6 separate regions of the Homo sapiens genome follow, and regions 1, 2, 3, 5 and 6 are each linked to region 4. The links are contacts of gene promoters, found by promoter capture Hi-C in human tissues and cell types (Jung and others, 2019). All regions are on one chromosome and are shown on one strand. Each heading gives the region's core, a stretch centred on a gene start or on the middle of the fragment in contact. The rest is flanking DNA. Distances are from core to core; before and after follow the strand shown. Region 1 overlaps SYNJ2 (synaptojanin 2). Region 2 overlaps SYNJ2 (synaptojanin 2). Region 3 overlaps SYNJ2 (synaptojanin 2). Region 4 holds the start of TMEM242 (transmembrane protein 242). Region 5 overlaps SNX9 (sorting nexin 9). Region 6 has its middle 24 kb from the start of SYNJ2.

The links. Contacts are between HindIII fragments. The study calls those that stand out against the background at their distance.
Region 1: a contact is called between a fragment that was not itself captured here and the fragment with the promoter of TMEM242 in region 4, in 1 of the 25 tissues and cell types used here (dorsolateral prefrontal cortex).
Region 2: a fragment that was not itself captured here is called in contact with the fragment with the promoter of TMEM242 in region 4 in 1 of the 25 tissues and cell types used here (dorsolateral prefrontal cortex).
Region 3: a fragment that was not itself captured here is called in contact with the fragment with the promoter of TMEM242 in region 4 in 1 of the 25 tissues and cell types used here (dorsolateral prefrontal cortex).
Region 5: a fragment that was not itself captured here is called in contact with the fragment with the promoter of TMEM242 in region 4 in 1 of the 25 tissues and cell types used here (dorsolateral prefrontal cortex).
Region 6: a contact is called between a fragment that was not itself captured here and the fragment with the promoter of TMEM242 in region 4, in 1 of the 25 tissues and cell types used here (dorsolateral prefrontal cortex).

Annotation. Positions count from the first base shown.
Region 1 is chr6:158,026,028-158,029,939 of GRCh38, forward strand. SYNJ2 (synaptojanin 2) reads left to right here. Exons shown (of 27, transcript NM_003898.4): 3 at 2,729-2,999. Among named protein-coding and RNA genes, the nearest start is that of SYNJ2-IT1, 27 kb to the left of the region's middle. RefSeq lists enhancers at 42-729, 730-1,417, 935-1,004. The HindIII fragment of the contact is 3,760 bases long and covers 78-3,837 here.
Region 2 is chr6:158,080,260-158,084,137 of GRCh38, forward strand. SYNJ2 (synaptojanin 2) reads left to right here. Exons shown (of 27, transcript NM_003898.4): 19 at 850-1,068; 20 at 1,173-1,251; 21 at 3,170-3,338; 22 at 3,742-3,878. Among named protein-coding and RNA genes, the nearest start is that of SYNJ2-IT1, 81 kb to the left of the region's middle. The HindIII fragment of the contact is 5,446 bases long and covers 1-3,878 here.
Region 3 is chr6:157,995,187-157,998,850 of GRCh38, forward strand. All of the region lies in intron 1 of SYNJ2 (synaptojanin 2), which reads left to right. Among named protein-coding and RNA genes, the nearest start is that of SYNJ2-IT1, 4.1 kb to the right of the region's middle. The HindIII fragment of the contact is 8,824 bases long and covers 1-3,664 here.
Region 4 is chr6:157,321,221-157,324,919 of GRCh38, forward strand. It overlaps TMEM242 (transmembrane protein 242), which reads right to left and starts at 2,299. Exons shown (of 4, transcript NM_018452.6): 1 at 2,192-2,299; 2 at 1,485-1,585. The coding sequence starts at 2,279. It overlaps TMEM242-DT (TMEM242 divergent transcript), which reads left to right and starts at 2,414. Exons shown (of 1, transcript NR_187268.1): 1 at 2,414-3,257. RefSeq lists enhancers at 2,062-2,401, 2,582-3,011. The HindIII fragment of the contact is 1,828 bases long and covers 989-2,816 here.
Region 5 is chr6:157,938,224-157,942,053 of GRCh38, forward strand. SNX9 (sorting nexin 9) reads left to right here. Exons shown (of 18, transcript NM_016224.5): 16 at 410-524; 17 at 2,660-2,751. Among named protein-coding and RNA genes, the nearest start is that of SYNJ2, 42 kb to the right of the region's middle. The HindIII fragment of the contact is 9,940 bases long and covers 1-3,830 here.
Region 6 is chr6:157,956,219-157,959,750 of GRCh38, forward strand. No RefSeq gene overlaps it. Among named protein-coding and RNA genes, the nearest start is that of SYNJ2, 24 kb to the right of the region's middle. The HindIII fragment of the contact is 3,731 bases long and covers 1-3,119 here.

The DNA.
Region 1 (3,912 bases), core at 708-3,207, 700 kb after region 4:
AACTAATCCGATTGGAAACTGCCGGACTTTGGGGCTAGATGGAGCATGGGCTTAAAGTGAAACCTACATTTTGGCTCCAACACAGACTAGCTGTGTGCTTGGGCGGGTGATTCAGCTTCCCTGGGGGACAGTCATGCGTGTGTGAAATGGCAGTGGTAGCCCTGAGACAGCAGCATGGGTAAGCAGGCTGGCGACGTCATCTGCAAGGAGGTGTAATTAGGAGCACCAGCTCTGGGGCCAGACTTGGCTTGAGAAACTTGCCCAGGCACTGTAGCTAGAAAGTGGATTTGGATCCCAGCTCCCCGCTCTGTCACCTTGGGCAGGCTGCTTAACCTCTCTGTGCGTCTGTTTCCCTCCCTGTGAGATGGGGCTGGTAAGGGCGCCCCTTGCGGTGGGCGGGAGGATGGAGTCCGCGCCTGTACAGCTCCCCTGCCTCCACTGCGCTCACCAGATACCGGCTCTCCTCACTCCCCTGTACCACTCCCGACCCCCTCCTCCCTGGACCCAGGAGCCCCAGTGCTCTGTGGCAATGTTAAGAGCCTCTCCTGGCTGCTACAGTGCTCCTCTCCCCAGCCTCCCCCAGGCCGTGGTCCTGCCCAGGAAATGCACCTGGGACTGTTGCCAGGCACTCAGGCCCCCCACACGGAGGCTGTTGAGGAAGTGGTGCTAGAAATCAGCTCATGACTCTCACGGAGTGATGTCATGCAAAATTTTCCATAGCTCTGGCAGCCACAGGGGCCATCCTCCTGCCTCTCCGAGGGCACTTCTGCTGAACTGTGCTTTTCCCTGCACTGTGTCAGAAGAGGCAGGTGGGTGCCGGGAGCGCTCTGTGGCCAAGGCTCTGATCACAAGCTGCCAACCCCGGAACCCCACCTATCCTACTTGAGAAGCTGAACTCTGACCCCTGTCCCTGTCCCCAGTGTGATAACTTCCTTTGTTCTTAGGTGGTTTTGAGGTGGTTTCCTGAGGATGTGTCTGGGGAGATGTGATGGGATCAACCCCCTGCCCTGCTGGCAGCCCCACCCCATGGCATAGCAGCAGGCCCCTGGGAGCCCTGAGCGCTCATTAAAGGAACGCACTTTAATGACAGCCACACGCCACCCTGCCACAAGCAGCGCTCTTCTCCCTATGAAGTGTGGTGAGGAAATTGGGGTGAGAGGGTGGTGGAACTGGTTGTTTTGGGGGTCTCTTCCTGGAGTGTGGAGAGATCAGAACCATCTCCAGACCATGGCTGTAGACAGCGGCCCTTGATCATTCACAGAAGATCTCGCTGGGCGGATCCTTCAGACCTCAGCGGGGTGGGAAGAGTGTCCTTGGGACTAGAGCCCTGCCAGACCCCAAAGGCCGGTTTCTACCCGATGATCTCTTGGGCCCCGTCCCGAGAGTGAGGCACGGCGCCACCAGGCACCCCCGATACGCAGCGTGTTGTGAAGTGCCCTTGTGAGCAGCGGGGGATAGGGAACAGAAAACCAGCTGTCAGCGACAGCGAGGTGGTGCCCCAGAGAGGGCTGCCTCATTCGCCTGGCTGCAGGGTCCGAGGTCGTCTTGGTAGCATTTGGCAGGAATTTATTTAGGAAGCATTCAGCAAACCGAGTGTGTGTGGTGCTGGGAGATGACGACGAAATGGCCCTGCCCCCAAGGAAGCCCCTCCCCTGGGGGCACAGGTGGGGAGGGAGGTCATGAGCTTTGTGTGTGTGACAACTGCTGATGGGAATGCTATTGGCACGTACGAGGGGTGCCTGTCCGTGTCTTGGGAGAGCAAGGAAGGCTTCCCGGAGGAGTTGCTGCCAAGTTGGCCCAGAAGGATGAGGAGGAGTTCTTCTGGTGAAGTGGGGAGGGCAGAGGCAGGATGGTCCCTACGGAGCATGTGGGGACGCTCGTGTTCTTCCAGAGGATGGAATGCTGGGCCCGAAGCCTGAAGTATTGTTAGGGTAGAGACAGGCGGGAGGTGCGTGGAGAAGGGGTCATGGAGGTCTTGTTGGGCAGATGGCGGTGGGACGTCCCAGGCAGGGGGAGCATCTTGGGCAAGAGCCCAGGGTGCGAGGTCATGCTTATGGCACATTGGACCAGCTGGAGGACAGCCAGCTCAGGAGAGCAGCCGGCTGGGGTGTCTGCCCACGTGTGGGGCAGGGATGGGCTGCAGCGGGGAGGGATTTGGGAGCTTCTGTCGTAGTCCTGCAGGGAGTGGGAGCTGTGCAAGAAGGAAGGGCGGAGCGGCTGTGATCCAATGACTTTGGGAAGGCCACTCCTGTGATGGAGTGGGGGAAGACAGACCCCAGGCCAGGGGTCCTGAGTCAAGGCAGTGGCTGAGGAGGCACTGGGGAAGGTGATTTGGAGAGGCTTTGGGGGTAGGTCCTGGGGGTCTGGAAGGGCTCTAGGCCAGGAATTTTCAGACTCCTGGGGGCATCAGAATCACCTGGAGGGCTTGTTAAAGCAAAGCTTGCCCCCAGCCTCAGGCAGCTGGGCGGCAGGAATCTGCATGTCTAACAGGCTCCCAGGGGATGCTGACTTGCTGGCCAGGGTCCCACACTTTGAGAAGCCCCGCCTGAAGCTTACAGGACAGGGCAGGTTCTTGAGCCATTGAGTTGGGCAATGCCATGGGAAGTTGCAGGTGCACAGACGTTGCCTTCCTGGCTGCGGTTGAACCTGGGCTCCATTTGTCCCCTTGGAGCTCCAGGCGGCCGGGCCGACTTCGACCCTGAGCTCTCCTGTCTGATTTCCTTTCCAGGTGGCACGTCTCTGAGCTTCCTGGTGTTGGTGACAGGCTGCACATCTGTGGGCAGAATTCCAGATGCTGAAATCTACAAAATCACTGCCACTGACTTTTACCCTCTTCAGGAAGAGGCCAAGGAGGAGGAACGCCTCATAGCTTTGAAGAAAATCCTCAGCTCGGGGGTGTTCTATTTCTCATGGCCAAACGATGGGTCTCGCTTTGACCTGACTGTCCGCACGCAGAAGCAGGGGGATGACAGCTCTGAATGGGGGAACTCCTTCTTCTGGTGAGGCCCTGGGTCCCCTGCAGAGGGTGGGCCCTGGGTCTCCTGCAGAGGGTGGGCCCTGGTTGGCATCTGAGGCCTTGACCTCCACTTGCACCACCCCCGGGTTATGGGGCACCTCTGGAGAGTTAGGACCCAGGCCTGCTCTCAGCACAATGAGAGGAAAACTAACCCTGAACTCCCTGCCACCCCCCACCCCTGGCCCCTGGAATGTGTTCAGTGTAGATTTGGAAAAGAAACCTGCGCCAGGCATGGTGCCTCATGCCTGTAATCCCAGCACTTTGGGAGGCTGAGGCAGGTGGATCACTTGAGTTAAGGAGTTTGAGACAAGCCTGGCCAACATGGTGAAAGCCCATCTCTACTAAAAATACAAAAAAAAAAAAAAAAAAAAATTAGCTGGGCGTGGTGGCAGGTGCCTGTAATCCCAGCTACTCGGGAGGCTGAGGCAGGAGAATCGCTTAAACCCAGGAAACGGAGGTTGCTGTGAGCCAAGATGGTGCTACTACACTCCACCCTGGGTGACAGAGCAAGACTCTGTCTCAAAGAAAAAGAAAGAAAGAAAAGAAACCCTGTTCCATAAGTAAAAAACATAAGAGCCGACGTCTGCTGAGTGCTTCCTCAGTCCCGGGTGCCGAGCTCAGTGCTTCTGCCTGGATTCACTCTTTCAGTCTTCTCAATCATGGTTACCTCCAGTGTGCAGCCGTTTACCGCTGATGTTTATAAAGCACTGTGTTCGGGTCACCGTGCTAAGATCTCTCTGCTGGTAATAACTCATCATTATTATAAAAACCTTTATAATAATTATGCGGAGGCTCTGTTACCCCATTTTACAGGTAGAGAGACTGAGGCACGAATAGTCGAGGGAATTTTGCCAAACTCCACACACTTACTAAGTGGCAGAGCCAGGATTTGAACC
Region 2 (3,878 bases), core at 25-2,524, 760 kb after region 4:
AAGTCAGGAGTTCAAGACCAGCCTAGCCAACACAGCAAAACCCCATCTCTACCAAAAATACAAAAATTAGCTGGTCATGGTGGCATGCGCCTGTAATCCCAGCTACTTGGGAAGCTGAGGCAGGAGAATCACTTGAGCCCGGGAGGCGGAGGTTGCAGTGGGCTGAGATCGCGCCACTGCACTCCAGCCTGGACAACAGAGGGAGACTCTGACTCAAAATAAAAAAAAAAAAAAAAACGAGCATTTCCCTTTTTTTTTTTCCCTCCCATCAACAATGCTGTAAATGATCAACCTCATGCATTAAATCTTTGTCTGAATCCCTGGTCATTTCCTTAGAATAAAGTCCGAGAAGTGAGATTACTAGGTGAAAAGAGATGAACAATTTTGGAACTCTATGTAAAGTGCCAAGTAACCCTCTGAAAAGCTTGCACCCCTGGCAGAGTGCAGATGTCTGCTTCCCCACCTCCTTGGTGGTACTGAGGATTACCATGTCAAAAATCTTTGCTGATGGCTGGTTATTTTCCAAGTACTGGGATACATCTTTAAGGTGCCACACTTTATTTTCCCCCTCAAATCATCTTTAGATAAAAATGCCAAGGTGATACTAAGGTTAAGGAAAGATGAAGACTAAAACGCCAGAGCAGGGCAGCTAGCCTGCAAATCCACCTGCTGGTGGCCACATTCGCAGGTTGTTGGTGTTGACTGTTTACAAAGAGCCCTGGGGGACAGCAGCTGGGGACTGGGGGCTGGAGATGTGGACATCTGTCCCAGGCTAACTGGGGACTGGAGGCCGGGGGTGTGGACATCTGTCCCAGGCTAACTGTCATCCCTCTTTTGTTCCTAACGCAGACCTGTGCTGGCGATCGTGGAGGTGGAAGTTCAGGAAGTCGATGTGGGTGCTCGGGAGAGGGTTTTCCAGGAAGTGTCCTCCTTCCAGGGCCCCCTGGATGCCACTGTTGTAGTAAACCTTCAATCACCGACCTTAGAAGAGAAAAACGAGTTTCCAGAGGACCTGCGTACTGAGCTCATGCAGACCTTGGGGAGTTATGGGACAATTGTTCTTGTCAGGTAACTGCTCCCCTGGCTGATGTGGGTTCCAGGGGATGTCGATGAGGATCCGTGAGAGCTGCCAGGTCGTTCTTGGCATTGACTTGGAGTATCATTTATTCCAGGATCAACCAAGGGCAGATGCTGGTAACTTTTGCAGACAGTCACTCGGCTCTCAGTGTCCTGGACGTGGACGGTATGAAGGTACGCTGTACTTGGCCACACTGTGGAGTGGGGTCTGATCAATCCCTCTTTTTATGTGGGCATGTCTTCTTCCTCCTCTTGCCCTGACCTGTGCCTTTTTTTTTTTTTTTTTTTTTTTTTTTTTTCTCTGAGACAAAGTCTTGCTCTGTCATTCAGGCTGGAGTACAGTGATGCAATCACAGCTCGCTGCAGCCTTGAACTGCCAGGCTTAAGCAATCCTCCCATCTCAGCCTCTCAAGTAGCTGGGACCGCAGGCACGTGCCACCACACCCAGCTAATTTTTTTTAAATTTTGTAGAGAGAGGATCTCACTCTGTAGCCCCGGCTGGAGTGCATTGGGACAGTTATGGCTCACTATAACCTCAGCCTCCTGGGCTCCAGTCATCCTCCCGCCTCGATCTCCCAATGTGTTGAGATTACAGGCATGAGCTTTCATGCCTGGCCACCAATCTGTCTTTATGTATAGACGCCATATGCGGGAGGGAGTTTGGATTCTTCACTCTGGTTCTAAGGTGTCTCATGTCCGGCTCTAGCTACTTGCAAAATAGGGCGGAAGGGTGGGCGCAGTGGCTTATGCTTGTAATCCCAGCACTTTGTCAGGCCAAGGTGGGTAGATCACCCAAGGTCAGGAGATCGAGACCAGCCTGGCCAACATGGCGAAATCCTGTCTCTAGTAAAAATACAAAAATTAGCCAGGCGCTGGGTGTGGTGGCTTACGCCTGTAATCTCAGCACTTTGGGAGGCTGAGGCGGGCAAATCATGAGGTCAGGATTTCGAGACCAGCCTGGCCAACATAGTGAAACCCCGTCTCCACTAAAAATACAAAAATTAGCCAGGCATAGTGGCAGGTGCCTGTAATCCCAGCTACTTGGGAGGCTGAGGCAGGAGAATCACTTGAACCCAGGAGGCAGAGGTTGCAGTGAGCCGAGATCGCACCATTGCACTCCAGCCCAGGCAACAGTGTGAGACTCTGTCTCCAAAAAAAAAAAAAAAAAAAAAAAAAGTAGCCAGACATGGTGGCGCGTGCCTCTAGTCCCAGCTACTCAGGAGGCTGAGGCAGGAGAATCGCTTGAACCTGGGAGGCAGAGGTTACAGTGAGCTGAGATCGTGCCACTGCACTCCAGCCTGGGTGACAGCGAGACCCTGTCTCAAAAAACCAAACAAACAGAATGGGGAAGAAGAATGTCAGTCACTGTGTCTCACGTTGGAAGGCAGCTCTACCAGCAGCTGCAGAAGCTTAGCCATTTTAGAGTGTAGTTCTCGCCGAGTTACTTGATCTGTCTATGCTCGCACTGCCATGTGGGAGACTATTCCAGTCTTTCTCTTTAGAGTATGTATTTTGGAATATGCAGCTCATAGATAGTTTCCGTTTTTATAGTATCTTGGCTTTAAATCTGTACCAAATGGGAAGCTGGAGATGAGAGTTCAACTTTTTTTTTTTGAGATGGAGTCTTGCTCTGTCACCCAGGCTAGAGTGCAGTGGTGCAATCTCGGCTCACCGCAGCTTCCGCCTCCCGGGTTCAAGCGATTCTCCTGCCTCAGCCTCCCGAGTAGCTGGGACTACAGGCACTCACCACCACGCCCAGCTAATTTTTGTATTTTTAGTACAGATCGGGTTTCACCGTGTTGGTCAGGCTGGTCTCAAACTCCTGACCTCAAGGGATCTACCTGCTTCGGCCTCTCAGAGTGCTGGGATTACAGGTGTGAGCCACCGCACCCAGCCCAGTTCAACTTTTTTTTCAACCAGATGTATGAGAGCTATGCTGAGCCTGCGTGAGGTCTGGACCCTTGGTTTTTCAGGGCCAAATGTGAAGATTGGCCTCGTTGAGGGTGTGTGGGTTTTGGTGAGAAGCATTGTGTGATCAACAGGAGGGGTCATGATTTTTATTTATTCCTGGGTGGCCGCTCTGCCCTCCCAGGTGAAAGGCAGAGCAGTGAAGATTAGACCGAAGACCAAGGACTGGCTGAAAGGTTTGCGAGAGGAGATCATTCGGAAACGAGACAGCATGGCCCCCGTGTCTCCCACTGCCAACTCCTGTTTGCTGGAGGAAAACTTTGACTTCACAAGTTTGGACTATGAGTCAGAAGGTTAGTGACCCTGCAGGGAGGGACAGGCAAGCCGTTCTTCTAGCAACAGGCCTGAGCTTTTAAGGACACCTTCTAAAGCCTCCCTTGCAGAAGTGACGGAGGACACCCGCAGGGCAAGCCCTCTGTCCCATGTGATGAGCATGTTTGTATGTGTGGACGATGCATGCCATGCTACCTGGGACCCGAGGCATCTAAACTTAGGCTACAAACAGTGGCTATGAGGATATCAGGGCTGTGGGTGTACCAATGGAACTGGGGTACCGTCCCTGCTGGCGCCTGGGCCCTGAGCTGCAGGGCAGGGTGCACGTGTCCTGACAGGAGCTGAACCAGTCCCACTGATGGAAGACTGAGCCTTTCCCCCTCATTGTTTTCACCCGAATTGTGATTCATTTCCTTCTCCCAGGGGATATTCTTGAAGACGATGAAGACTACTTGGTGGATGAATTCAATCAGCCTGGAGTCTCGGACAGTGAACTCGGGGGAGACGACCTCTCTGATGTCCCCGGCCCCACAGCACTGGCTCCTCCCAGCAAGTCACCT
Region 3 (3,664 bases), core at 682-3,181, 670 kb after region 4:
AATAGCCCCAGACTTCTAGGGCCTTTGAGTGTGTCTGTCTTGGGCAACATCTTCTCCTTTTAGATTTCAGGCTCAGTTTACTGTCAGGAAAATTAAGTTGCTGAGAGCGTCTCAGAATTTTGGCTTAAAAGAGAATATACACCTGGAACAAAGACTTGAGGGGTGCTCCTATTAAAAAAAACAAACAGTGTGTGAGCTTCAAAGGAGCACCTTGAAACTCCAGTTCCATCACATCCACTCTGCTGGGCCCTCCTAGGGCAGCTCTCTGTCTTGTGCCTGCCTTCTCTTCTGAACACTCCTAAGGTATTTTGAGTGCGGAGGATAGGATCATACACTCAGGAAAGCCGAGAGCTAGATCCTGAAGCATCTGTGCGGGAAATGCCCATCTGTGCCTGAAATGAGCATCTGCGAGTGAAGTGATCCCATGTCTGGGATCTGTTTGGCATGCGCCAGGAGACAGACGGACACATGCATGCACACACACACACAGCGGGGACGGGGAGTTGGTGAAATAAGAGTGGGAAAATGTTGACACCTCCGTGAGCCGGGTGACAAGCTGCTTGGTGGTTCACTAGACAGGGAGTTATAAATTGGCCGCTTTTCAACATCGACAGATAAAAATCAATAGCCTTCCCATAATGCCATCATTAATCAATTAGAGTCTGTAATGGGAAAAGCAGATGCCACTCCCCCACAGTTTCTGGGAATAAACAAAGTGTATAAGGCCTAAAAGAAGAAAGCTATAGAACTTGACTGAAGCCCACATCTGTGGAAAGGCATACTATGTTCTTGGAGTGGGAACATCAACACTATAGAGATGGCAGTTCCTCTCCAGTTAATCTGGAAGTGCAAGTATCGATGAGTAAATCCAATTAAATTCCAACAAGAGCCTGGTCTAAAATGTAACAGGCTGATTTTACAGTATCGCTGGACTCCCCCTACATCCAAACTTATTCTTACCTTCATTCTCCCATTTTGGTTAATGGCAGCACCATCCAGGCAACTGCTGGTAATAAAAGCCTGTGAGTCATTCTGACGCCCCTTCCTTCCTCAGCCTCATCCAACCTACCAGCCAGTAGTGAATCCCACCCCAAAACAGATGGTGAATCCCACCGAGTCCCCCGGTCATCGCTGCTACATCGAGAGTGCAGCCACTGCCCCATGTGCTTTCCTGGTCTGCTTGGCAGCCTTTGAACTAGTCTCCTGGCTCTTCCCCTGCTCCCCGTATAGGGATCTGCTTGAAGCTCACACAGCCCTGATCCTCTGCCCCTGCCTCTTTCTCCACCCTCATCTCCCACCATTTCCTGGGCTCACTGCATTCAGCAGCCTGACTTGTTCCTGCTCAGAATCTTCACACCCACCTGCATGCACTCCCTCCCCCAGGTGATATGGTTTGGATCTATGTCCCCACCCGAAGTCATGTTGAAATGTGATCCCCAGTGCTGGAGATGGGGCCCAGTGGGAGGTGATTGGGCCATGGTGGTGGTTTCTCATGAATGGTCAGCACCATCCCCCCTGGGGTTATCATTGAAACAGTGAGTTGCCACAAGATCTGATTGTTTAAAAGTGTGTGGCACCCACCCCACCCTCTTGGTCCTGCTCCTGCCATGTAAGTTGCCTATTCCCACTTTGCCTTCCACCATGAGTAAAAGCTCCCCGAGGCCTCCCAAGAAGCAGATGCTGCCATGCTTCCCGTATAGCCTACAGATCCATGAGCCAATTAAATCTCTTTTCTTTATAAATTACCCAGTCTCAGGCATTTCTTTATAGCAGTGCGAGAACAGACTAGTACACCAAGGGTTGGCCTGGCTGCTGCTGCCTCCGTCTCCCCACCTACCCCACCCCCCCCCACCCAGCTTCGTGACTGCAGTAAGACCTTCCTGACCTCTGTGGCTGGAATACCCTGCAGCCCCCACACACCAACTGTCTCTGCCCCATGCCTGGTTTCCTTTCTTCTTGGCGCTTATCACTGAAATTACCTTATGTGTGTGCTTACGTGGGTGTCTTCTGTTGTCCACTGCAAAAATGCATTGTGGGTTGAATTGTGTGCCCCAGAAAAATACATTGCTGTCCTAACCCGGGATACCTTGCAATCTTATTTGGAAATAGGGTCTTTGCAGATGCAATGAAGATGTAAGTTAAGATGGGATCGTACTGGTATAGGGTGGGCCTTTAATCCAATGTGACTGGCGTGCTTATAAGAAGAAAAGGGACACAGGCAGACGCACGCAGAGGGGAGAATGTCATGTGAAGGCATACAGGGAAGACAGCCATATGACAATGGAGGCAGAGATGGGAGTGACACTGCCGCAAGACAAGGAATGCCTGGGCTACCGGAAGCTGGGAAAAGCAAGGGAAGATGCTCCTACCCACGCCTTGATCTTGGATTTCTGGCCTCCAGAACTGTGAGACAATAAATTTGCTGTTGTTTCAAGCCCCCCGTTCTGTGGTTCTTTGTTACAGCAACCCAGGCAACTAATACAGGGGCATTGTGTATCTCGTTCAGTACCTTACCTTAACACTGCCTCGTGTGGAAATGAGGCTTGGCAAACACTGTTGAATGACGAAGCATTGGCAAAAAAAATAGCCAAGATTTTGAAAAGGATCCACAAAGGCAGACTGATTTACCAGGTAGCACAACATATTATAAAGCCCTAACCATCGTGGAGGCTGTCAGCACAAATCAACACAGTAGAGTGGAAGGCTCAGAACAGACTTGTGTGAGCAGTGTTACTTTGTTTCTTATAAAGGTGATGACTTCAGTCGGTCAGAGAAAGGTAAGGGTGGATACTCAGCACCTGCTGTTGGTGTGGTTGATCAGTGCAGTGCCTAAGAGGCCCCTGCTCTATTCAACTGGATATTCACGCAGGCATTCTTGGCCGGTCTGCTCAGAGAGGAATAGGCTGGAAACCTTGGCTGGCCAGCAGGATGCTGCCTGCTGCTCTGCTTCCAGGGGAGCGAGGGGTCTTCCTGGCAGTTTTTGCAGGTGGCTGCACACACAGGTGTCCTTCTGGTCACTAGCTCCTCCCCCAGCTGAAAGCCCTGGGTCCCCAAGGAGCCAGAATCCCTTATAAAATTACCAGCCTTACAGAGCCCTGGGTTCACACAGGGGACATTCCATGTTACAAGAGTTACCACACCTAAGGAAGCCCCATGCCTGGCTTCTTCACCGAGTGGTTATAATTCACTTATGGGTCTTCCCTGTCCAGAGGCAATTTGCCAATCAAGGTCATTTTTACCATGAGCAATGTTGTCTAGTAACAGAGTTGACGTTCCATCTTGATTGGGGTTCCCAGGGAACCAGAGCTAGATAATTAAACATTAAATTCTCATACAGAAGGGAAGAAAGATTTTGCTAAGCCTGTGACCAAAACTATCCATATGGACACTAAGTGAGAGTCCTATGTTTTATCATACATTAAAATAAATGCAGAGGTATTTAAGTGTAAAAAAACAACTTTCAAAGTATTAGAAAATATAGGCTATGCTTTCACAGTGTTACGGCATGGAAAGATGTTCTAAGGAAAGCATCAAACTCAGAAGTCATAAAGGAAATAAACCTGACAGATATGGGAAATATTTTTATTGAAGTGTAACATACATAGAGAAAAATGAACACTCGAAGCGTTGAGCTCCATGAATCTTCACCCGGTGAACACACCCA
Region 4 (3,699 bases), core at 1,049-3,548:
GATGGTCTCAGTCTCCTGACCTCATGATCCGCCCGCCTTGGCCTCCCTAAGTGCTGGGATTACAAGCGTGAGCCACCTCGCCCGGCCTTGTATTTCCCATTTCTTTACACAGAATATTAAAATGAGGTTTATTTGAAGGTCATGATTTAATAAAATTAACTATTTTATTTCTTCAACAAGGACACTGTTAAGTAATACTGGCTTTAAAAAATACAGGTACTTTGTAATGAAGGACACAAGGACTTTCACAGTTTGGTGCTACTGCCTTAGACCAAGGTATCAGCAGTTTTACTCTCCATTGCCTCTGTACCATTAGTACAAGCATCTTAGTATCATTATGAAAATAGTTCTGACTTCATGGACCCAAGGATCAAGGATCAGCAGGGTTCTGTGGACTGCAGTTTGAAAACCACTGTTAGACCCCGAAGAGCATCTGTGATGATCAAATCTCAGAATAACAAAATAGGATGGAAAGTTGTGATATGTGTACGTGCGCTCTTCAGCCCCAGAGAATCCCTAGTTTTCATCAGATTATTAAAAAGATCAGTGAGCCAAGGATTAACATAACTTAGGCTTAGAAATCAACCAAAACTCTACTGTTAAGGCACTACTCTGATTTCCACCACAAAATATATTTCTGCTCTGAAAACATTCTATAACATAGAGAGAAAATGACCCACAAGGTCCATAGCAGTGATTTAGGAAGCTCCATATAAGCTTAGAGCATTCAGAGGGGATCCAAGCACACTTTAAACATGGTCTCTTGCCATTATGGTATCGATAAGGCTTAAGTATGATTATTAAAGATAAATGTAAGTGGAAAGGAAACTTGACTTTTTATGATGTTTTACGTAACACTTTTCCTCCATAGCACACATCAAATTGTAATTACACAGTTATTTGTGTGAATATTTATTTATTTATTTTTGAGACAGAGTCTCGCTCTGTCACCCAGGTTGAAGTGCAGTGGTGTTATCTGGGCTCACTACAACCTCAGCCTCCTGGGTTCAAGTGATTCTCCTGCCTCAGCCTCCCGAGTAGCTAGGACTACAGGAGTGCCACACCACACCTGGCTCATTTTTGTATTTTTAGTAGAGATGGGTTTTCGCCATGTTGGCCAGGCTGGTCTCAAACTCCTGACCTCAGGTGATCTGCCCCTCTCGGCTTCCCAAAGTGCTGGGATTACAGGCATGAACCACGATGCCTGGCCCAAATTTAGATTCAAAGTCATGTTGTGAATAGGAAATGTACCAGATAAGCTTTCAAAGTCTTGTTCCGCTAAAATTTAAGAAAGCACATAAGTACATCCTTCTAAATGAAAATAAAGACTTGGTTAATTTGTACATTTCTAGAATCCATGAGCGTATATAAATTCACATCTTAAAGCAATGTGAAAGACCATCAATATTTTATTTTTTCTACGCAAAAGCTGCCATATATTGTAAACAATAACAATGCTATGAATGGATTTCAGTGTCACCAACCTTATTGAACCATTCAGGGCTTTTCTTTTTAGCCAATGATAATGTTGTAATAAATCCAGCTAGCATTCCCGCTGCAGCAACGGTACCAAGGAAAATTCCACCTGCCAAGAGTTTCGGGGAGGAGGGGGGATATTAAAAAAAATTAAATAAAAAGAGGTTAAAAAGATGTACAAAAGTAAGTTTAAGATACTATTCGAGTTACAATCAAAATCACTTTTGAAATTCAAGAAACCATGGCTAAGCAGCTCTTGCTAACAGTAAATGACAGCGGCTGAGAAACACGCGTGACCGCACGACCTCTGGTTCCTTGGGTCATTCCGAATTATTATTCCCGAGCGCAGAGAAAAGGTTCAGCTTCCCTTCCCCTCTCCCCTGGGACCACAGCGTGAAGTTTCTCACGGGGAGGAGAAGAGACGATGGCAATCAGAAAAGGCAAGGCTCTAGAACAATTGCAGAGGTGACGGGGAAATATGGCACGCCCGGGAGAATAGCTCGCGGGATCTGCCCCCCGCCCCGCCCAAGGGGAGACTCCACCCAGTAAGCGACCTACCCTCCCTGGGCCGCCAGACTCCGCGGGCTAAACTCAGGGGCAAGCACAAGCTAAGGGCTCTCAGAGCGGGATGTGTGTGGGAATGCCCGCTCCAGAGCAAGCCAGGGTCCGGGGTTAACTCACCCCGACGCCCGCACCTCACCACAGCACATCTTACCTTTAACCAGGAAAAGCCGGTCATTCGTGGACCCCGGAGCCTCCAGCCCAGAGGCCGGCTGCCCAGTTGCAGCGCCCGCTGTCTCCATGTTTAGGTCGCCTCTAGTGCGTCCGTCCCCAACTGGGCCCGGGTGGAAGCGAGAACCAGGCGGAGGAGAAAGGTTCCGCTACCGCCTCCTCCTGTGCAATCTGAAGAAGGGTCCGGAGTGCGGCCGCTGTCCCCAAACCCTCCTCCCGCGCCGGGGCCGGGAAGACGTGCTGTGCCCAGCCCCAGGGGCGATGCCCTCCAAGGCCGTCTCTTAGGGAGGATCTTTTGATTTCTCCAAGGAGATCATTGCTGGACTTAAGTGATTACTTTGGCTGTTTGAAAGAACGCTCAGCCCCGACTGTAGGAGGCAGTGAGGGTCGCAGATTGCGCCAAGATTCCAGGCCCCGCCTGTGAGACCCTGGAGCTCATTTTCCTGATCAAGCTTACATTGTGTCCAACGATTTGGCCAGCGCTAACACTCCACGATTCTAAAACGCAAGCCTAGGTCTTCTGTCTGTACTTTTCTAGGTAACTTCCCAACAGTGTTGAGGAATAAGTGACAGGCTTTCTCCCTGGAGGAGAGCCAGCCACCCGGTTCTGCGGTGACGGGTACCTCCGCCGCGGTGTGAGTGCTCGGCCTCCGTCGGGAAGTGGAACACTCACAGGATGACCGAATGAAAGTACCACCCCCGAAAGGAGAGCGACGCCCGCTGGAAGCGCTTGCAGAGCTGCCGGCAACGTTGACCGCTAGCAAGCTTGGTCTTCCGCTGGGAGGCTGGTTTGCCCATTCTGTAAATGGCCGTGGAGAGGAGGAGGCTAGTGGTGATAGAAAATCTTTTCAGCCTCTCAGAGAACAATGACATCTTGTAAAATAAGGCGGTCTCTCTGCTATTTGTCCTGCCCCCCATCACCGGAGGGCATGAGTTTCCTGAGGATGGAGATGGGACTCTATGTTCAGTTTATATCCCCCAGCTTTCAGATATTAACTGGTTACCAACATCAAATGCATGTTGGATGAATGAGTAAATGAATGCATCCATTTTTGCGTCAGTGAAGTGCAGTTAATAGCTCAAACCTGGGCTCGGGTCCTAAACCGCTTCTCAGGTGTGTGAACTTGGGGTAACTTAGCCCCTCTATAGCTCAGTTTCCTCACCTGTAAAATTTAAAAACTGGTAGTAGGCCAGGCGCGGTGGTTCACGCCTGTAATCCCAGCACTTTGGGAGGCTGAGGCAGGTGGAGATCAGAAGTTCGAGATCAGCCTGGCCAACATGGTGAAACCCCGTTTCTACTAAAAATACAAAAATTAGCGGAGTCTAATGATGCGGGACTGTAATCCCAGCTACTCGGGAGGCTGAGGCAGGAGAATGGCTTGAACCTGGGAGGGAGAGGTTGCAGTGAGCCGAGATCGAGCCGTTGCACTCCAGCCTGGATGACAAGAGTGAAACTCTGCCATCCACCCCATCCCGCCCCCCCCACACACA
Region 5 (3,830 bases), core at 714-3,213, 620 kb after region 4:
AATATTCTGTTGTATAAAAAAAGAGAGAGAGTGCCTGTGTGCACATGCTGCCCTGTACCTAGCCACATGACTTCCAAAACCTGCTAATGCCTGATTTCCATTACGTGCTACTCCTCAAATGGCAGCGGCTTCTGAATATTACAGAGATGGTGTGCTGTTTGCTTTTCTCTTTTGTTGTAGCATAAAACTGTTCATTTTAGCTTAGTGACATTTGTCAAGAATAGCAACCTTTTTGCTTCCAAGGGACTTGAAGGAAGTTAAATTTAGATGCTTTCCTCTCTTCTTATTTTGTGGAGGTATTTCCTGTTCAGTAGCAAATCAGTTATAGAATATATTAGCATTGTTATATTTTAAACTAATGACTAATCATTTCAGCTTTATTCATACTGTTGCATTTTATATTTCACAGGGAGCAATAGAAAAAGTGAAAGAAAGTGACAAACTAGTTGCAACAAGTAAAATCACCCTACAAGACAAACAGAACATGGTGAAGAGAGTCAGCATCATGTCTTACGCGTTGCAAGGTAAGATGAAAGGGTCCTTATGAGGTGCTGGTGGAAGTTTTTTTTTCCCCAGCAAAGTTTCCCTTGATAGAGAGAAATCCAGATGTGAGCAGCAGTTAAGTAAGTGAGACCTTTTAAGCCCCTCGTTTGCAGGATCCCGGTGCTGATGAAAATCTGTAATATTTATTTAATTTTTCACCTGTCCACCTTATCTGGCTATAGATGACAGCTTGATTAAAACTGTACATTTTATTATTTCTGAGAGACATTTAAGATTCCTTTTGTAATCTGTGGTATCATAATGCTCTATTAAATGCCAGAGCCCAGCTTTTAGCAGTCTGTAACCTGCGTGCCTTGGGATCATGGAATGTGAAGGGGTTTGGGTGTGTCATTTTAGGCACAATTTTTTTGTGTCAAGAAAAAAAAAAGATGAATTTCTATAGGTTTGAGTGTTTTTGAGCAGATGAGGGCAGCAAGTGGATTTTTCCTGTTGGCGGATGGGTGGATGGCACTTGGATGGGCAGAGAATGGAGAGCGTGTTCTGTTAGGAACAAAAGCCACAAAATTGTGGTGCTAGATTGTGTCATGGGCATGAAAGAGTAAAACATACTTAGAGGTTATTGGGAAATAAATTTTGATTGTGAAGGAACTTGAAAGCTCTAGACTTGATGCAGGCATTAAGAAGCCATTAAAAGGGAGTAAAAAAAAATCAATCCTCAAGGGAGAAGGATTTGCTGGTTATGGAGGGGAGATTGGAAGATGCAGACACTGTCCAAGAGCCCAGCCAGAAGACCATCTCACTGTTGTAGTCTGAGCTTTGAGGGCCTAAAGATGTGGTACTGGGGAGAAGAGAATGAAGCACATTTGCAGGCTTTTCCAAGGAACAGCTTTCAAGACTGGGGCATTCATGGGAGAAAGAGAAGGATGAGGGAGGTGTCCAGAGCCAGGCCACTACGGCAAAAACGAGGAACCCTGATTGAAGTTTCGGGTTTTGAAGGGTTTGAAATGGGGAGTTTGGTTTTGAACTTGTGTTTGAGGTTATCCAAATTGAGAAATACAAAGCTTTGTATAACTTCAAGTAACTGAATGTAAAATGTAGAACAGTTTGCATGTCATGGGAATCTGTGCAGCCGCTGGCTTTCTCAGCCTGGAGGGTTTGGGAGAAGGCGGCATAGGAGGCATCCGAGGGAGGCAATGAGGTCCTCTGATGACGAAGACTCCTCTAGAGTTGGGGGCAGGGGCAGGGGGGACAGAGAAAGAAGGAATCCATGTATTCAGCAAACATGAAGAAAGTTGTCCCTCAGCATCCAGTCCTCCTGCCCTGTGAGAGGTTGAGTTCTGACAGCGTCGCTGGTGCTCAGGGGCAGCAAGGCTTCCCGTACTGAAGAAGGGTCTCCCGCTGTCCCACACGCTGCCCAGCCTTTCACCAGAAACCTGCTGAAGCAATTGCTGTGCAGGAGGGAGCGGGGCAGGGACCCCAGCTGCCTGCTAGGTCCAGTGCAGACACACCAGAGGCTTTGAACTGCAGTCATCTGTAACAAATATGACCAAGTATTTTCTATTTGATCGATTCTGTTAGAGTAATAGGCTGCATTTGGGTGATTTATCTGTATTGGATTTTATAGTTTTGAATATGCAAGACAGTGAAAGTCATTCATTTACTGGAAAGTAATGTTTGTCATTAGCTTGTTTTGTTTTGTTTGTTTTGTTTGAGACAGTCTCGCTCTGTCACCCAGGCTGGAGTACAGTGGTGCAATCCCGGCTCACTGCAACCTCCATCTCCTGAGTTCAAGCAATTCTCCTGCCTCGGCCTCCCAAGTAGCTGGGATTACAGGCACCTGTTGCCATGCCCGGCTAATTTTTGTATTCTTAGTAGAGATGGGGTTTTGCCATGCTGGCCAGGCTGGTCTTGAACTCCTGACCTCAGGTGATCCACCCACCTCACCTCCCAGAGTGCTGGGATTACAGGTGTGAGCCACTGCGCCCAGCTCAACTTGTTTTTCTAACCTCTTAGTAAAGTGATTTACCAAGAACTGACAACAGCAGCCAACCAGATTAGGTCAGGTTGATGATTAATTGTAACTGAGCAGAGAAACCAGGTGTTGTCATTTGAAAACTTGAGGGAAAACTGATTGATGTTCTGATTTGGGTTGTAGCTGAGATGAATCACTTTCACAGTAACCGGATCTATGATTACAACAGTGTCATCCGCCTGTACCTGGAGCAGCAAGTGCAATTTTACGAAACGGTGAGTGGGCGTCCACGTGCCTTTCGCATGTGCTTGAGGAGAGGGTTCCTGGTAAACCACTTTGACCATGTAAAGTTAATCTGTTTGTATTCTTTAATCCTAAGTAATAAACCAAAGGAGCCTAAATTTTGGACAGGATTTTTTTAATCTCCTAATTCCATCTGCCCTTTGCTTTTTGGATAACACTGGGTTAAAAAAGATTTTCTTCTGAAGCAGGGGTCTTGGATGCTAGTTGCAAGGCCCCAAGAAGTTCCTTATTGTGCAGCTCCTTCCCCCCGTCACAGCCTCTCTGTGCCTCTGTGCACCAGGAACGGTGCTGAATGAGATGAGGTCACCCAGCCGTCCCTGGGACTCCGTTGGCAGCTGGAACAGGAGCCTGGCACCACACAGGAAACCAAAGGCAGCCTTTGCTTTTTGTGAATGAGGTTTTCACAGTGCGCCATGGAAATCGCAGAGAGAAAACCAAAAAAGCGAGATGTGGGATGGTTTTATTCACAAAACAATAACGAAAACTTAAATTTTTCTTACCTCTGCTTAGTAATTTTGTTGTTTACCAGAGTCTATAGAAAACAAAAATCTAGTAGCATGTCTCCCTCAGACACCTGCAGGTAAGGTCTGTAATGTAGAATCCAGCCTCCGCTGGCGGCCTTGCTGCCTACCCAGCTCCCCTCTGGCCATGGGATCTAAGCCATGTTCATGGGGAGTGGTGAGCAAGCCCTCTGCTCAGCCATACTGGTGGCATCTGCGAGCTGGACACTGCTGAAAACGCCTGTCTCCAGCAGCCAGTTCTTAAAGGAGAACTGTGCTTGATGTACCTAATGCATATTTGTGAATTGTGTCTTGGACAGTTGGTTTGGGAGACTAACTTACGGGAGGAACTCACCTAAGCCCTGTCCTCCCTTACAGGACGTGGGCCCTATGCTCTTTAAATGCACACTTTTCCCGTCAGTTGGTGCCATTGTGGATTTGCCTTTCATTGTATATTAGAATATAACAGATTACATTTGTCTGTGTGAGAAAATAATGCAAGGGCAACTCTCAAAATTTTGATAGTGTTGATTTATTGATTTTCAAGTCCA
Region 6 (3,532 bases), core at 4-2,503, 630 kb after region 4:
CCTCCTGACACGGGTGCCTCCTCGTGCCCCCTCTGAAACATGCGTGCACTTATCTATGTGCCATGCAAATGGAGTACGTGAGCACCCAGGGACCCTCGATAGATTACCTGGTGCCAAGCGTATTCTTCCCTGCCCCTGTCTTGGAAAAGCAGCCCTACGAATGACAGCCTCCTGACAACTGGTCAGTTTTCCAACAGGATGGTGACTCCCCTCCTTGCCTTCTGCTTTCTTGAATCAAGGGCCTGAAGAGGCCAAGCAAGGTGGCTGATGCCTGTAATCCCAGTGCTTTGGGAAGCCGAAGCAGGAGGATCACTTGAGGCCAGGAGCTTGAAACCAGCCTGGGCAACATAGCAAGATTCTGACTCTACGAAAACATTTAAAACTTCGCCAGGCATGGTGGCGCATGCCTGTAGTCCCAGCTACTTGGGAGGCTGAGGCAGGGGGAATGGCTCAAGCTTAGGGGTTCAAGGCTGCAGTGAGCTATGATTACACCACTGCACTCCAGGCTGGGTAGCAGAGTGAGACCCTGTCTCTAAAAAATAAAAAAAATTAATAAAAAAGAGCTGAAGAGACCAAGCAGCAGCCAGGGCTTAAAGCTTTGAGGGGCTCTTGTGCCTCTGGGTGGAAGCATTTCACTGTTATAGTCATTTCCATTATAGAGGGTAAAGTCTTCACTGTTTCCTTCCTACATACAATTTATTTATATTTGTTTGTTCCTGAACTGGAGTCGTAAAGCACCCAATTATTGTTAGACGGTTTATATTTAATGTGATTATCAACATGGCTGGGTTTAAATCCATTATCTTGCCATTGGTCTCTTATTTGTTCAATCTGTTCTTCATTCCTTTTTTTCCCTCTTTTGAATTGAGTACTTTTTATGATTTTATTTTACCTCCAATAAAACCTCCCTTTTCCCTCTTTGCTATATGTATTTAACTTATCATCGTCTATTTTTAAATAATAGTGCCACCTCATACACAGCTTATGAACCTTACAATATGTTACTTCCATTTTCCCCTCTTGTACCTTATTGTTGTCATATATTTTATTCTACATATACTATAAACTCAAAAATACACTGTTAATATTTTTGCTTTAAACAGTTAATTTTTTTTTTTTTTTGAGATGGAGTCTTGCTTTGTTGCCCAGGCTGGAGTGCAGTGGCGCAATCTCGGCTCACTGCAAGCTCCACCTCCCGGGTTCATGCCATTCTCCTGCCTCAGCCTCCCGAGTAGCTGGGACTACAGGTGCTCGCCACTACACCTGGCTAATGTTTTGTATTTTTTATTAGAGACGGGGTTTCACCGTGTTAGCCAGGATGGTCTCCATCTTGTCTCCATCTCCTGACCTTGTGATCCGCCCGCCTCGGCCTCCCAAAGTGCTGGGATTACAGGTATGAGCCACTGCGCCTGGCCACAGTTAATTATCTTTTAAAGAGTATTTTCAATTATAAAAAAGTCTTTTACATTTACTGATGTGTTTATCATTTCGAATCCTTGTGTACATCCAAATTTCCCTCTAGTGCCATTTTCCTTCTACCTGAGGAGTGTCCTGTAACATTTCTTGGAATGTAGGTTCCCTAGTTAATTAATTCTCTCAGTTTCTGTTTGTCTGAAAAGCTGATTTTGAAAGAAATTTTATGCAGGATAGAATTCTGGATTGATTGCTTTCTTTTTCTTTTCAGTACTTTTTTTGAGACAGGGTCTGGCTCTGGCACCCAAGCTGCAGTGCAGTGGTGTGATCATGGCTCACTGCAGCCTCAAGCTCCCGGGCTCAAGTAATTCTCTCACCTCAGCCTCCCAAGTAGCTAGGACCACAGGCCCATGCCACCACACCTGGCTAATCTTTTTTAAAATTATTTTTAGCAGACAAGAGGTCTTGCTATGTTGCCCAGGCTGGTCTCAAACTCCTGATCCTCCCGTCTCGGCCTCCCAAATTGCTGGGATTACAGGCGTGAGCCTCCACACCTGGCCTCCTTTCAGTACTTTAAGGATGTCACTCTATTGTCTCCTGGCTTGCATAGTTTCTGATGACAAATCTGCCATCACTCTTACCTTGCTCGTTTGTAAGCAATGGGTTTTTTTTTCCCTGACCTGCTTTTTTTTTTTTTTTTTGAGACGGAGTCTCGCTCTGTCACCCAGGCTGGAGTGCAGCAGTGCAATCTCCACTCACTGCAAGCTCTGCCTCCTGGGTTCACGCCATTCTCCTGCCTCAGCCTCCCAAGTAGCTGGGATTACAGGTGCCCACCACCACACCCGGCTAATTTTTTGTATTTTCAGTAGAGACAGGGTTTCACCACGTTAGCCAAGATGGTCTCAATCTCCAGACCTCATGATACGCCCACTTTGGCCTCCCAAAGTGCTGGGATTACAGGCGTGAGCCACTGTGCCTGGCCTTCCCTGACCTGCTTTAAAGATTTTCTCTTTGTCACTAGTTTCCGGCAATTTGATTATCATGTGCCTTAATATAGTTTTCTCCATGCACCTTCTGCTTTGGTTTGGTTAAGGTTCTTGGATCTATGGCTATAAAGTTTTCATTAAATGTGAAAAAATGTTGGCCCTATTTCTTCAAATATTCTTCCTTTCTCCCTCCTTTATTTCTGAAACTGCAGAGATATACATGTTAAACCACTTGATCTTGTCCACAGATCACTGGATTCTCTGTTAATTTGTTTTCTCAATGGGCTTCATTTTTGGACAGTTGCTATTGCTATGTCTTCAAGCTCACTGATGTCTTCTTCTGCAGCATCTCTCTGCTGTTAATCCCATGTCATGTATTTTTTATTCCAGATATTATATTTTTATCTCTAGTAAATTCCATTTGGATCTTTCTTATATTATTAATTTCTCTCCTCATTTATGTTTCTATTTTTCCCTACCTTCATGAATATATGGAATATATTTGTAATAATTGTTTTAAAGTCTTTGTCTGTTAATACCATCATGTATTTTATTTCTGGGTCTTTTCTGTTGATTGATATTTCTCTTGGTGATGTTCATATTTTCCTGTTTCTTTGCGTGCCTGGTAGTTTTTGGTTAGATGTTGGCATTGTAAAATTTTACATTGCTGGGTGCTGGATTTTGTTGTATTCTTTTAAATAGTGTTCAGCTTTTTTTCTGGCATGTAGTTCAGTAATTTGAAATCAATTTGATCCTTTCAAGGTTTGCTTTTAAATTTTATAGAGTGGGATCAGAGCAGTCTCTTTGGGTAGAACTAATTTTGTCTTCCTACCAAGTGGATCCTGCCAGATGCCCTGTATTAAGATATCTTCACACTCTGGCTGGTGATTATATGATCTATTTCCAGCCCTGTGAGTCCCAGGAATTGTTTGGCCTGCCTGTGGAGTTTTGGTGGTTATGATCACTATCCTCACATAGTTTTCTCACATGAGTGCATACAATGTTCAGCAAAGTCTCTCTAGGGGACTCTTCAGCAGACCTCCAAAACAAGCAATTTCTCTCTCTCTCTCTCTGAAACATAGACACACACACCAGACACAGACACAAACACAAACACACACAAACACACACAC